Linked DNA regions of Homo sapiens: all the other regions are linked to region 4. The links are contacts of gene promoters, found by promoter capture Hi-C in blood cells and fetal thymus (Javierre and others, 2016). All regions are on one chromosome and are shown on one strand. Each heading gives the region's core, a stretch centred on a gene start or on the middle of the fragment in contact. The rest is flanking DNA. Distances are from core to core; before and after follow the strand shown. Region 1 holds the start of GIN1 (gypsy retrotransposon integrase 1). Region 2 holds the start of PFDN1 (prefoldin subunit 1). Region 3 overlaps CEP120 (centrosomal protein 120). Region 4 holds the start of MAT2B (methionine adenosyltransferase 2 non-catalytic beta subunit).

Evidence for each region. The method cuts DNA at HindIII sites, captures the fragments that hold promoters and counts their contacts. A CHiCAGO score of 5 or more calls a contact.
Region 1: a contact is called between the fragment with the promoter of GIN1 here and the fragment with the promoter of MAT2B in region 4, in 1 of 17 cell types (total CD4 T cells). The highest score is 5.5, in total CD4 T cells.
Region 2: a contact is called between the fragment with the promoter of PFDN1 here and the fragment with the promoter of MAT2B in region 4, in 1 of 17 cell types (fetal thymus). The highest score is 5.9, in fetal thymus.
Region 3: a fragment that was not itself captured here is called in contact with the fragment with the promoter of MAT2B in region 4 in 1 of 17 cell types (total CD4 T cells); the score reaches 8.0 in total CD4 T cells.

Annotation. Positions count from the first base shown.
Region 1 is chr5:103,118,845-103,121,618 of GRCh38, reverse strand. It overlaps GIN1 (gypsy retrotransposon integrase 1), which reads left to right and starts at 1,481. Exons shown (of 8, transcript NM_017676.2): 1 at 1,481-1,555. It overlaps PPIP5K2 (diphosphoinositol pentakisphosphate kinase 2), which reads right to left and starts at 1,318. Exons shown (of 31, transcript NM_001276277.3): 1 at 1,131-1,318. RefSeq lists enhancers at 918-977, 1,028-1,217, 1,248-1,507, 1,343-1,843, 1,844-2,345. The HindIII fragment of the contact is 9,897 bases long and covers 1-1,523 here.
Region 2 is chr5:140,301,635-140,304,392 of GRCh38, reverse strand. PFDN1 (prefoldin subunit 1) reads left to right here and starts at 1,292. Exons shown (of 4, transcript NM_002622.5): 1 at 1,292-1,352. The coding sequence starts at 1,320. RefSeq lists a silencer at 1,183-1,387 and an enhancer at 1,276-1,555. The HindIII fragment of the contact is 1,473 bases long and covers 892-2,364 here.
Region 3 is chr5:123,420,306-123,423,193 of GRCh38, reverse strand. CEP120 (centrosomal protein 120) reads left to right here. Exons shown (of 20, transcript NM_001375405.1): 1 at 1-244. The coding sequence starts at 196. Among named protein-coding and RNA genes, the nearest start is that of CEP120, 1.7 kb to the left of the region's middle. RefSeq lists a silencer at 91-250 and an enhancer at 1-525. The HindIII fragment of the contact is 2,497 bases long and covers 299-2,795 here.
Region 4 is chr5:163,504,191-163,506,890 of GRCh38, reverse strand. It overlaps MAT2B (methionine adenosyltransferase 2 non-catalytic beta subunit), which reads right to left and starts at 1,272. Exons shown (of 7, transcript NM_013283.5): 1 at 1,142-1,272. The coding sequence starts at 1,204. RefSeq lists a silencer at 956-1,095 and enhancers at 1,266-1,385, 1,426-1,515, 733-1,539. The HindIII fragment of the contact is 7,455 bases long and covers 109-2,700 here.

The DNA of each region.
Region 1 (2,774 bases), core at 232-2,731, about 60 Mb after region 4:
ACTTTTGTCAGACATATAAGTAGGTACACCAAAATTTTTTAAATGAATGGATACTTTCAGACACTGAAAATGTTAGTGAAGAAATTGAAATCGAGGAAGAACAGGACAGGACAATAGAATACAGATTTTGAAGGCAGACAGATCTGGTTTTTAACACAGATTCAAACGTTTACTTATAACAAATGTTTAATAGAGCAAGTTGCTTGACTGTTCAAAGCCTCCATTTCTAACTCTGTAAAATGGTGATAATAATCTAACATACCTCCTGGAATTGTTGAGAGGAATAAATGACAAACTATGTAAAGCACTCGGCACACATAAGACTCAGTTAATGGCAACTATCGTTATTATTTTATCTATCTGAGACAAAAAAATTATCTATTTCATTTAAGAATTCTCAATAGCAAAACAAAATCCTGTCCCAGTGTAGAGCGAGGATTTTACGTGCTAAGGTCAGCTATGCTTCCCACTTCCACAGTTAAGCCTTCCAGCAAGACAACTACTAGCCAAAGGACACCAAGAGTCGCAATCTCCCAGGAAGTGGTCAAGAACCTCGTGAATGAGATCCAGGGATCATCACCCTGGCCCCTTCTTCTTCAAGGCGCAGAAGGCTGCAACGACCTCCAAATGACTAGGTGCGGCAGTGCCCTGCAGCCTCGGTCCCTACTATGAAAAGCTGCAACACATGAGGCTTTTGTTATTTTAAAGTGGGTGTGGGGTTGACAGAGAGAGGGATAAAGACTAAGGCAGAAAATTTTTTAAAAAGCCACCTCTACCCACAGCAGTCCCATAACTCGAGGCTAATCACTTCAGTGGAGCCAGGCACAGCGTGGGGTAGAAGCTCAGCGGTTCCCTTTTAGCTGATCTTCAATTTCTGGCGTCTCGAACCCAAGAAATGAAAAAGGGAAGCCATGGGGGAGCAGGAGGAGAAATCAAGGCGCGAAAGGACCCTCAAAGCTGTACTGTCACTCCACGCCCAGGCTGTCATTCTCTCCAGCACAAGCCCCTCGGTGGAGCATGTGTTTAGGGTCTGCAGAGCACAGGAGACAAAGCAGAAGCCCAGCAGCCGCCTCAACCCTGGCATGATCAGGTTCCGCATCTCCGGTTCTCCTCCGGTTTTGGGCCCTCACCTGCCACGAATGCGGTCGTCACGCGAGCAGTTGTGAGATGGTCAAGCCCATTCAGGTCTAGGTTACCCCCTTTCATCCCGGAGGCAGGGGTGAGGTGTTTGTCAAGAGACTTCAGTTGTAGGCGTGGACGTAGGCTACTTCCTTCAGTAACAGCTATAGGGCCACATAAGGGAACCTCAGGCTACTACACCTCAGGAATCTCCGTCACGCCTCTTCCCCGCCCTCCTCGGGTCTCACGCCGAAACCTCACCGGGCGGAACGATTTCCGGCAAGAGCCAAATGATCAGTCCTAACCTTTCTGACCGTGGTTCCAAGGTTCCCCAAAGGACTGCCCTCTAAAGGACCCGGGTAGTTCCGCTTCCGGCAGCGCGAGATAAATCACGAGAGGAAGCTTAAATCTGTCGTTTGAATTTAGGACCACCTCGGTGAGTGGTCGTTCTGGTGTGCTGTGTCATACCTACTGTTTTTTAAAGTGAGGCGTAACCCGACAGTAATTTCAAAACCATTCGCCTCGACCGGCCTAAGGAAGGGTTTAATTGAGTCTGTGGGGAGATTTTGCGCAAGCGCCTTTGAGATAGGAGGGCCTTGGGCGTTGCGATGTCCCGCGCTAGCTGAGCAGAAAGGGCGAGTGCTGTTTCGGGCCTGGGGAGGTGCCTACTGGGTGTAATTGAGTTTTACCAAACGGTCATTTTCCTGCTGATTCTGAGTGTGGTTGGACCTTGCCCTTAAGATTCCGTTAACGAGTCGCCCAAAGCTTAGGAAATGCTCCCTCACAGCGTTTGAGACTAAGCACTTTTGGCCGGCGTTGAAGAATTCTCCCCATTACTTTGATCAGTCATTTAATCAGAAATTTTGCCCCAAATTTAAATACGTGGCGGGGAGAAACGTGAGGTCAAGAGGGAATCCTGTCACGTAGTTTTAAAAGAAAAATGTCCACTTTATCTCAGTGTAGGTTTTTCTTAAATGGGCATTTCTGAACCAAAGTAGATACTTTTTAAAGTGGAAATGCATTTATCCCATGTGGCTTCATGTGAATGCATATGGCGATGAAGGCATTTTTTTGTTCAATGAATTTGTACTCTGAAGTGAACCAGATTACAGAGAAGTGTATTTAAATTTACAGGTCCTTGACGTTGCATAAAATTGTGCGTGTCCATTTTTTGGAGCTTAAAATAGAATAATTCAAATGTCAGAATTCCGATCCAAGTTAACATGTTGATTGAAAATTGCAGATTTTAAGATGGAACCAGCGGGTATTATAACCTTTTAGGGGCTTAAATTGGTGGCTTTGTTTTTAACCCTTGGTGAAACAGTTAAGTCCTAATCTTGACATAATACCTAACTGCCTTACTTTATTGAACACAAAATTATTAAAGGAATTAAGCAATGAGTTGATTTTATTTGCTTTTATGGAGGGGACAAAGTGTATAAAGCTTAACCAAATGTGACCCTGACATTCCTCTTGCAAAACTACAAGTTGTAATCAATCACTTTCATTTTTTCTTATTCCTACATGTTTAAGTACATTAAGTAATGATTTTAAGAGAAATTCTTGAAAATATGAGCATATCCAAAGAAGTCCCAGGACAGTCTTTCTTTATGTAGTAGAAACCACTTAATCCCCCTTGTAAATGATACCTTTAC
Region 2 (2,758 bases), core at 43-2,542, about 23 Mb after region 4:
TGTGGCCGGGTGCGGTGGCTCAAGCCTTTAATATCAAAGCACTACAGCACTTTGGGCGACCAAGGCGAGCGGATTGTTTGAGCTCAGGAGTTTGAGACCAGCTTGGGCAACAAGGTGAAAACCCGTCTGTACAAAAATATAAAAATTAGCTGAGTGTGGGTGGCGCGCGCCTGTAGTCCCAGCGCTACTCACGAGGCTGAGGTGGGAGGATCGCTTGAGCGCGGGAGGTAGAGGCTGGAGTGAGTCGTGATTGCACCATTGCACTCGAGCCTGGGTGACAGAGCAAGATCCTGTCTCAAGAAACAAACAAACGTACAAAAAAAAAAAAAAACCCCACAAAATATCCAAGTGACTTGCTTAAAGTCACACAATTAGTAAATGGAACCAGACATAGGCTAAAGGCAGACCAAGCCTTGAATCTAGATTAGGCTGGTTCCAAATTCCCTGCCCTTTCATCTCCCTAACAGTTTGTTTTCTTTCTCTCTTTCTTTCTTTTTTTAAAAAATAAAATAAATTTCCTAATTATTTATGTAGCACTTTCTCTTAGCATAACAGTTTTTAGAGTAGGTTAACTTTTTTTTCCATTTCCAAAAGTCAATTATTATCTATTCTGGTTCAAATGCCAGGTCCTTTTATGGCAGAGATTCTCAAAAAAGTGATCCGCGGAGGAGTTGCACCATTAGGTCACTGGGGTAGTCTGCAAAAGTGCAAATTTCCAGACCCCATTCTCAAAGATTCTGAGTACGTTTGAGATGAGACCCAGAGAACCTGCATTTTTTTGTTTTTAAACAAACGTATTCAGCCTCTCTTGAGAACCACTGTGCCTAGAATGTCTTTGGGAAGCTTTTGGAAGTAATAAGTTCGTTTTGGAAAGAACACTCCAGACAAGCTTTCCAATAGTCTTTCCCAAACTGTCATGCCTGAGGTTCTGGACTTACTCTTACTCATTCCTGAGAGCACAGCGACTAGCTGAAGGACTGATCGACTGATGAGGGTTTGACCTCATCTACATACATCTCAATTTAGCAGCACATATTAAGCTAGCTGGCAAACTGCTTAAAGCCACATGGGAAATCTGCGCGTTGGGCTATGTCTGGAAGATACGGAGGAGCAAGCCAGACCTGACCGGTCAGGTAGTGAAGACACGGAATCCGAAACCCAAATATTTCAGGAGTCAATTCTCAGAGAAAGATAAGAAGCCCGGTTAGTCCAACTCATGCGCAGGCGCAGAAGAAAGACCGGCGCACAAAGTAAGACGCGCCCTTCCCCACCCTATTTCAGTCCAACTCCCACTGCGCAGGCGCTTACAGTGCACCAAGATGGCCGCCCCCGTGGATCTAGAGCTGAAGAAGGTAAAAGAGGGTCTTTGGCAGGCGGAGGTCTTCTTTTTGGAGGCTGAGGGGACTATAGACAAGAATATCAAGTGAGGCACGAGCCTTGCAGAAGGAAGGAGGGTCCAGTGGACTAGGGAATGGTTTCCCAGAGTCCTAAGGCCTCACTGGGTCTCCATAAACGGGGTGGGGGGCGAGCGGCTCTTGCTGGGTAGGAGCCGGTTGGTCTGGGTCGGGTAAGTCTGCGGGCCTGTCTCGGGCTTGTCCAGTCTTTCTGAGCTCCAGAGACATTTCGTTGCGTTTGGAGGCTTCAGGGACTCACTTTCATAGTAAGAACTAAAGAGAGCATTTCAAATGGGGGTCCCTTCGGACCCCTTGCCTGAGCTGTGGCATCCGTAATTCTGCCTCATTTGCTTTGAAAAACTCCAAGTCCAACCTTTGTTTTTAGGCCATTTATTCGGTTCTGTACCTTGAAAGTTGCAATATCTACAGTTCGGAAAACCAAGCATTGTAGCAGCAATGTTCATTTCAGGATTTTGCCCCCCCTCCACTTCTTTTGAAGGACTCGTCAAACAAAACAAAACAAAACCTCCTTCTTTTGAAGGAATTGTCAAAAACAAAACAAAACCAGTAAAGTTTTCCAAATAAAACCGGTATCGGAAGGAATTGGGTTTCCTGTTTTCCTCAGTTGCTTATAAATGTGTTGTTATTCAGATTTTTGCTATCTAAGAATGATCAGCATTCTAACACCACTAATGACCCCAAACCAGTATGCTTTGTGCGGTGGGGTGGATTGGAAAGGACCCTAGAATTTATCTATTTTAAATCTACTTTTCTGGAAAAGGAACCAGTGCCAGAAAAGTCTGTCAGAAGTTGGGACTAGAATCCAGTATTCTCTGCCTTATCTCACACTTTTTTGACCACTATTTTGAGTTCTTCAGATGAGCAACATCTTAGTTAAGACTGCCTGTGGTCAACTTGTGTAAAAGAAATAGGACAGCCGAAATAGCTGTTGCTTCTAACAAATGAAGCTTTTGTTAGTGTTGTGAGGATATTATGTGTTTGTGTCTTGCTTTTGTTCTTCTTGTCTTGAATCTTGTAAATTTAGCTCTTAGGTGGAGTCTCTAATCTTTAACAGTATACTAGCTCATCTTTAATGGTATACTAGCTTCCTTAGCAAGCTGTATAGAGCAGTCAGATGATACCTGGAATTTTACATTTCAAAACAAAATTGTGCATTCTAAAAATTTACCTTTTCTTCTGTTAAAAGTACCGATTTAAATCAGGGTTTAGTGAATGGATTTGCCTCCCGGTACTTTTGAATTTATTGCTACATTTGAAACTTGCGGGCGGTGAATGCAAACTAAGAAAATGATTACAAACTTAAAATGAATAATTTTGATAACCAATTAATTAAAAAACTTGTT
Region 3 (2,888 bases), core at 298-2,797, about 40 Mb after region 4:
GGGCTGGCGGCCCGAGGCAGAGGAGCCGGGCGCGCTGCAGCAGACGGCGGTGGGACCTGGCTGCGGAGCGGGGTCCGGGCATCAGGGACCGGGGGCGGGCAGTGGGGGTCCCGCCGGGGGTCCCGGATTACCCGCGACTCAACTGGACCTCACTTCCCCCCAGCCGCCTTCGCCCCCGGACCGCTCACCGCAACCATGGTCTCCAAATCCGACCAATTGCTCATCGTCGTGTCCATCCTAGAAGGTGAGCAGCCTGAGGCTTGCTTTTGCAACTGCTGCCTCCCGAGTTTTAAAAGCTTAGTGTGGGACCGAGGCCTTGTTAACCTTAAGAACCCTGTCATCTGTGCTTTTGTGGTCCCCACAGACTTGTTCAAAGTTGTACGTAGTGAGGTCTGTTAGGCAATTGATTTAAAAATCTCTCCAGGGATATGAGCGCTATTAGGGATAAGTGATATTTAGCGTGACTAGCCGTAGCCCCAGAGAATCTAGAGAAAACGATTTTCATCCAAAGCAGCACGTCGATGGCTTTTATATATGAGCTGAACGTGGTCCTGAGAAGCGCGTTCTGATCAGCGGTTCCCAATAATAGCACTTGTAAGAGCTTTGACTTGAATACAGGCTTCCTGCGATTCCAGAAGTGTTCCGGAGGCAATTCCCTTTACACGTCTTGCTGGAGGACTCAGGGGACTACAGTTCTTAAGAGGGTGTATTATACATTCCTTAAAAGGTGTGTTTTGGATGAATGACATTGGTTTATTGGGACTCATTGAGTGTCAGACACTGTGCTGGGAATGTAAGAATGAAACAGTCCTGATTCTAAAAAGCTAAGGATGTAGCAAGGAGAGTGTGTCAGCAAATAATTCATCAGGATGTGGAAGACCCTAATGAATGACCACCTCTGTCTAAGGAAACTGCGGAAGTTTCACTAGAGGAGGTGGCATTTTTTGGGGTCCTACAGATGATTAGGAATTTGTCAGGTGAAAAAAGGAAGGGCATTCCAGGCAAAGAGAAGAGCAGGGAGCACTTAAAGTATGGAAAAGCAAGACACGTTTTGCCTTGCTTAATTAAATTCACTCAGTAAACATTGGTTAAATTCAGTGTGGTTGGAGAACAGATTTGCAAGAAAGTGGAGGGCATAGGAGATAACAGGTGAATTGAGGACACTTTACGAATAGTATGTTAAGAAGGAGTCATCTTGAGCCAGAGCAGAAGCCTGGCTGCATTTTTTCCCCCATGGGAGAGTGTTTTATAAAGGCCTGGCACTGTGTGAGGGATGAGAGCAAAGGAAACATTGTAATCCTAATCTTTGAATTTTGGAACAAGAGACTGACCAGAAAAGCCATAAAGATTTGGAGCACTATTAACTGTTAGTTTACTTATTGTTTAAAAACATAGGACTGAAATAACCTTAAAATTTGGTTAACAACAGTTTTTAGACTTATAACTGACCATGCTATGAGGAAACAAATACCTCCATTCCCTCCAAGGATGTAGAGGTCTGTCCACGTGGGGAGATCACAGGACACAATATGTTGGGGTATAATATTTAAAATATGTGATATGTACTGTAAATATAGGTTTGAGGGTAGGGTGGGTGGGATGGCTGAAGTTCTTTAAATAATAAGTGAGCTTTAGATATGTGACAATAGAATTCTATGGACAACCCAGGCCAGTCTGACAACCCAGGACATAAATGCAATTCATTTGGGGAAGCTAGTTTTAGAGCAGCAGAAAATGAGGTCCTGAGAGAGGCCTGTTAGTGCTAATTGGGAGAGCTGTGCGATGTGTGTTAATATTCCTAATACAGAGTTTCAAGTGAGAGCCTCAGGCTTAAACTCAAAAGGTTAGCAGTCAAGGTCTTTCTGACCAGCTTGATTCCCAACCAAGTAGCTTGTGCCGGGGTGAGCATGGTGGGTGGAACATTGAAAAGATCAGCAAGATGACCAGGGTAGAGGAAGGTGAATATTTAGAAATGTCATGGTAAGAAATGAGCTTGTACAACTGGAGCGAATAGGCCTCAGAGGATCTTGAAAGCCAGTTTAGAATTAATGTTCCAAGAAATAGGTTGGCAGCATATATTCCTAAATAGAATGCTTTTCTTGAGTTCAGTTTAGTAGCAGTGTGCAAGGAAGAGAACCTGGAGTCAAGGATGTCTGTTAGGTTGTTTCCACAAACATACCCAAAACTAGCATGTGGTCCTCCCTCCAAACTATTCTTCTCTCTTGTTCGTACTGTATTTCCATTCATCATAACCATGCTGTTGCCTTAAGCCAAGAACCAAGGAGTCATCCTCAGCCTGGATTCACTCTCCATTTCTAACTTCCAAATGGTCATCAAGTATAATTGATTTTATTTTCTGAATAATAATAGATTCTACATACGAGTTTTTGAATGAATGAGTTTACATTGTGAGTGCCTTGGTAAGGGGCCCTCATTATCCACCTAACTTACTGTAATAATCTTTTCAGTAGTCTGATTCTTCAATGTTTTCTTCCTTTCCAGAAACATCTAGACTTCCTCCTTTACTCCCTGGGGATGATCTTTCTGAAATGCAAATCTGATTTTCTTAAAGTCCTTCAGTGTCCTAAAGGATAATGTCTGTATTTCTTAGAATGGCATACATGGCCCTTTGTGGTAGACCTCTTGCCTACCTTTTCAGTCTCATTTCCCCTCATGTATTCTCATCCCTTTGGCTTGGTGGAGGACTCGGGGGACTACAGTCCTTAAGAGTTAACTTGCAATTTCTTGACTACACTTTTAGAAATGCCCTTTATTTAAAAGAAAATGGTTAAGCTTTTACCATGAACAAAATTTGGGCTATGTACTAGATTCCAAGGATGAAAAAGACCATTTCTGTTATCTCTGTATCATTGTCTGCAGCAAGGCAG
Region 4 (2,700 bases), core at 23-2,522:
CAGTAAGTCTGTGCCAAGCTCTTCGTTGTTTCATTTTTAATGAAGGAAAACACGAAAAGCTATTTTCATTTTTATACTGAACTTCTTTTTGTGAAAGTAGATTAAGCTTTATATGCACACGTACACATACAAATGCATACATATAAATGTAAACGTATGTAACATGCACTCAGCACGGTCTGGAGGACCTAGGAACATAGAGGTTTAATAGACCATTTATCCTAACTTTACCCTCAAAGAACCAAAGTGATTTGAAAACCCTAAGTAAATTTGGAAGCATGAAAACTTTGCAATAACAGAAACAGCCATCTCCTATATTCTCTACTCTCTCCAAAAGACATGGTCTGGGCATTAGTAGTGTTCTTATCCCCAGGGTTGGATATGTTCTGTGGACAGATTAATGCTGGAGGCCCTTAAGTGGAATGGAGCAGGATGGGACGGGGGCGAGGGGGGCACCAGAGATGGATCTTCCAATCATCACCATAATCTTCCTTCAGGGAAACTCCGTAGTGGTTCAAAGCCCAAGACAGTCACACAAACCTGTATCTGAATTCCAGGCTCCAACCTTACGGAATGAACCTGGGCCAATGTCTCACCCTCTATGCCCGTTTTCTCGTCTACAAAATGAGGCAATAACAAGTATCTCACAGTGGAGGATTAAAGTAATGCCCGTCAAGTGCATAACATAGTGCTGAGAACTTAAGAGTTCAATAAGTTGTCATCTCCAGCACTGTTATTTGTGAGAAGTCACCTTTTCCTGTTCTTTCTCAAACCTACGAACTTGTAAGATCGAGAAATACGAACCAAAGATGAATAAACGGGGAAAACCAAAATCAAAACAAACAATTCTGAAAAACCTCTTCGTCCTCAGGAGCAGAGACAGAACTCGAAAGTAAAACCTCCACCTACTTGCTTCCTGCCGCAGTGGCTGGAAGAAAAAAACACTGACCCGTGTGCGCTGAGATAAACAAACTCGGTGGCGCCCCCCTCGGATCCGGGGCTGGGAGGGTGGCGGTGAGACCACTCCCGGCCGGAGGCTCTGACCCGGGCGGAATACGCCTGCAAAGCCGCCCGAGCCCCGGTGGCTCGTCCCCCTCGGCGCCCCCGCTCCCACCGGAGACGCCCAGGCCGACTCCCTCACCTCCACCAGCCGACAGCTCCCGGGAACAAAGTGTATAGAGAGCTCTTTCTCCCGCCCCACCATGCCCGCCGTCTTCACGCCGCAGCCTCAGCGGCCGCCACCTCCTCCAACCCAGGATCGACGCGGGCCTCAGCTCAGACGCCCTCGGCCCGCCTCCCCTAGGCCCAGAACGACCCCGCTCGCCGCTTCCGGCTTCCGCTGCCATAGCCGCGCCCGTTGATTGGCCACGCTCCGCCGACGCCCCAGAAAGAGGGCGGGTACGCGCGGTCTGCCCCCAGCCCACGCGCCGATGCTTAAAGCGACACACAAAAGAAAGGCCCTGACCTTAGGCAGTGAATTCAGGTTTTGTTTCGGAGATTTTATTTGAGTGCTTTTTATTCTACTTTTTTTCCTTTTTTTCTTGACTCGGGAAAAGATTGAAGTGGATCGCCTTGAGTTTCAAGTTTGCAGACTGCGCAGTGCATGAGGATCGACTGAGCAATATAAAAAGTGGAATAAAAAGCATTTTAAAGTCATGGGGGCGGGGGCGGAGGTGGGTAGAGCATAATGGACACATCTCTAGAGCTCTAGGTGGGGGTTTTGAAAGATTTAGAAAAAGACAAGGAATAAAAATAAAAGGGTTGGCGTCTGAGCCATTTGTCTTCCTGGGATGCTTAAAAAAAGAAAAAACCTGTGTGTGAGATATCAAAAATGTAAAACTATTTTTAACTAATTAAAAATAAAAAGTTGTAGGGGGAAGGAAGATGAACTACTTAGGTACCTCTTCAAAACGCAGATCCTTGGACTTTACCCATAATTACAGAACAAGAAACGAGCCCGGGGTCCGACTTCTTAATGGGTTTAACCAGAATCAAGCCCACTCTTTAAGAAACACCGCCTCGGGGATTGCAGGATTGGGCCACACGAGCCCAGCCTTGGTGAGCACCGAGAATTTAAGCAGCAGCGTGTAAGGCTGGGCGTTCTACCACCTTTTAAAAGTTAAGCAGCCCTAAGTGCTGATGCCGACTTATTTCCCTTCCAGTTAAAAACCGCAAAAAATCCTCAGCCAGGCTGGACGCCTGTGAAATTGATGCAGAAAGTAAACCCTGGCACAGGCCGTGTAGGATTTGCCAACTTTGCACCGAACAGTCCAAGGGTTCTTGTGTGCCCAGGATAGCAAGCTCTAAACGTCGTCCACAAACGTGACCACTGTCTGGATTTTCCTAGGGCCTTTCCCCGACTCCTAAACCTTTTTGGTTTATTTTCAAACTAAAGACTAAGCAGCCTTTTAAAGAAGTTTTCCACGTCAGAACACCATGACTTTCCTTCCTCCTCAACCCCCAACAAAAACTCATTTCCTTATTCGTGTAAACATAAAGTTTCTCTAGAACAGTAATCGAAGACAGCCTGAGGTTTCTTATGTTCCGATTTTTTTTTTTTTTAAACACAGGCTATTACTGTTCATTAGTTTGGCTTTATTTAGGGAATCCTTGAGGACTGCCCCAGCGCTAAACAAGCATAATCAGGGGACAACAAAGAAGAGGGCGGGAAGAGGGCCGGGGGAGCAGCCAAGATCATCT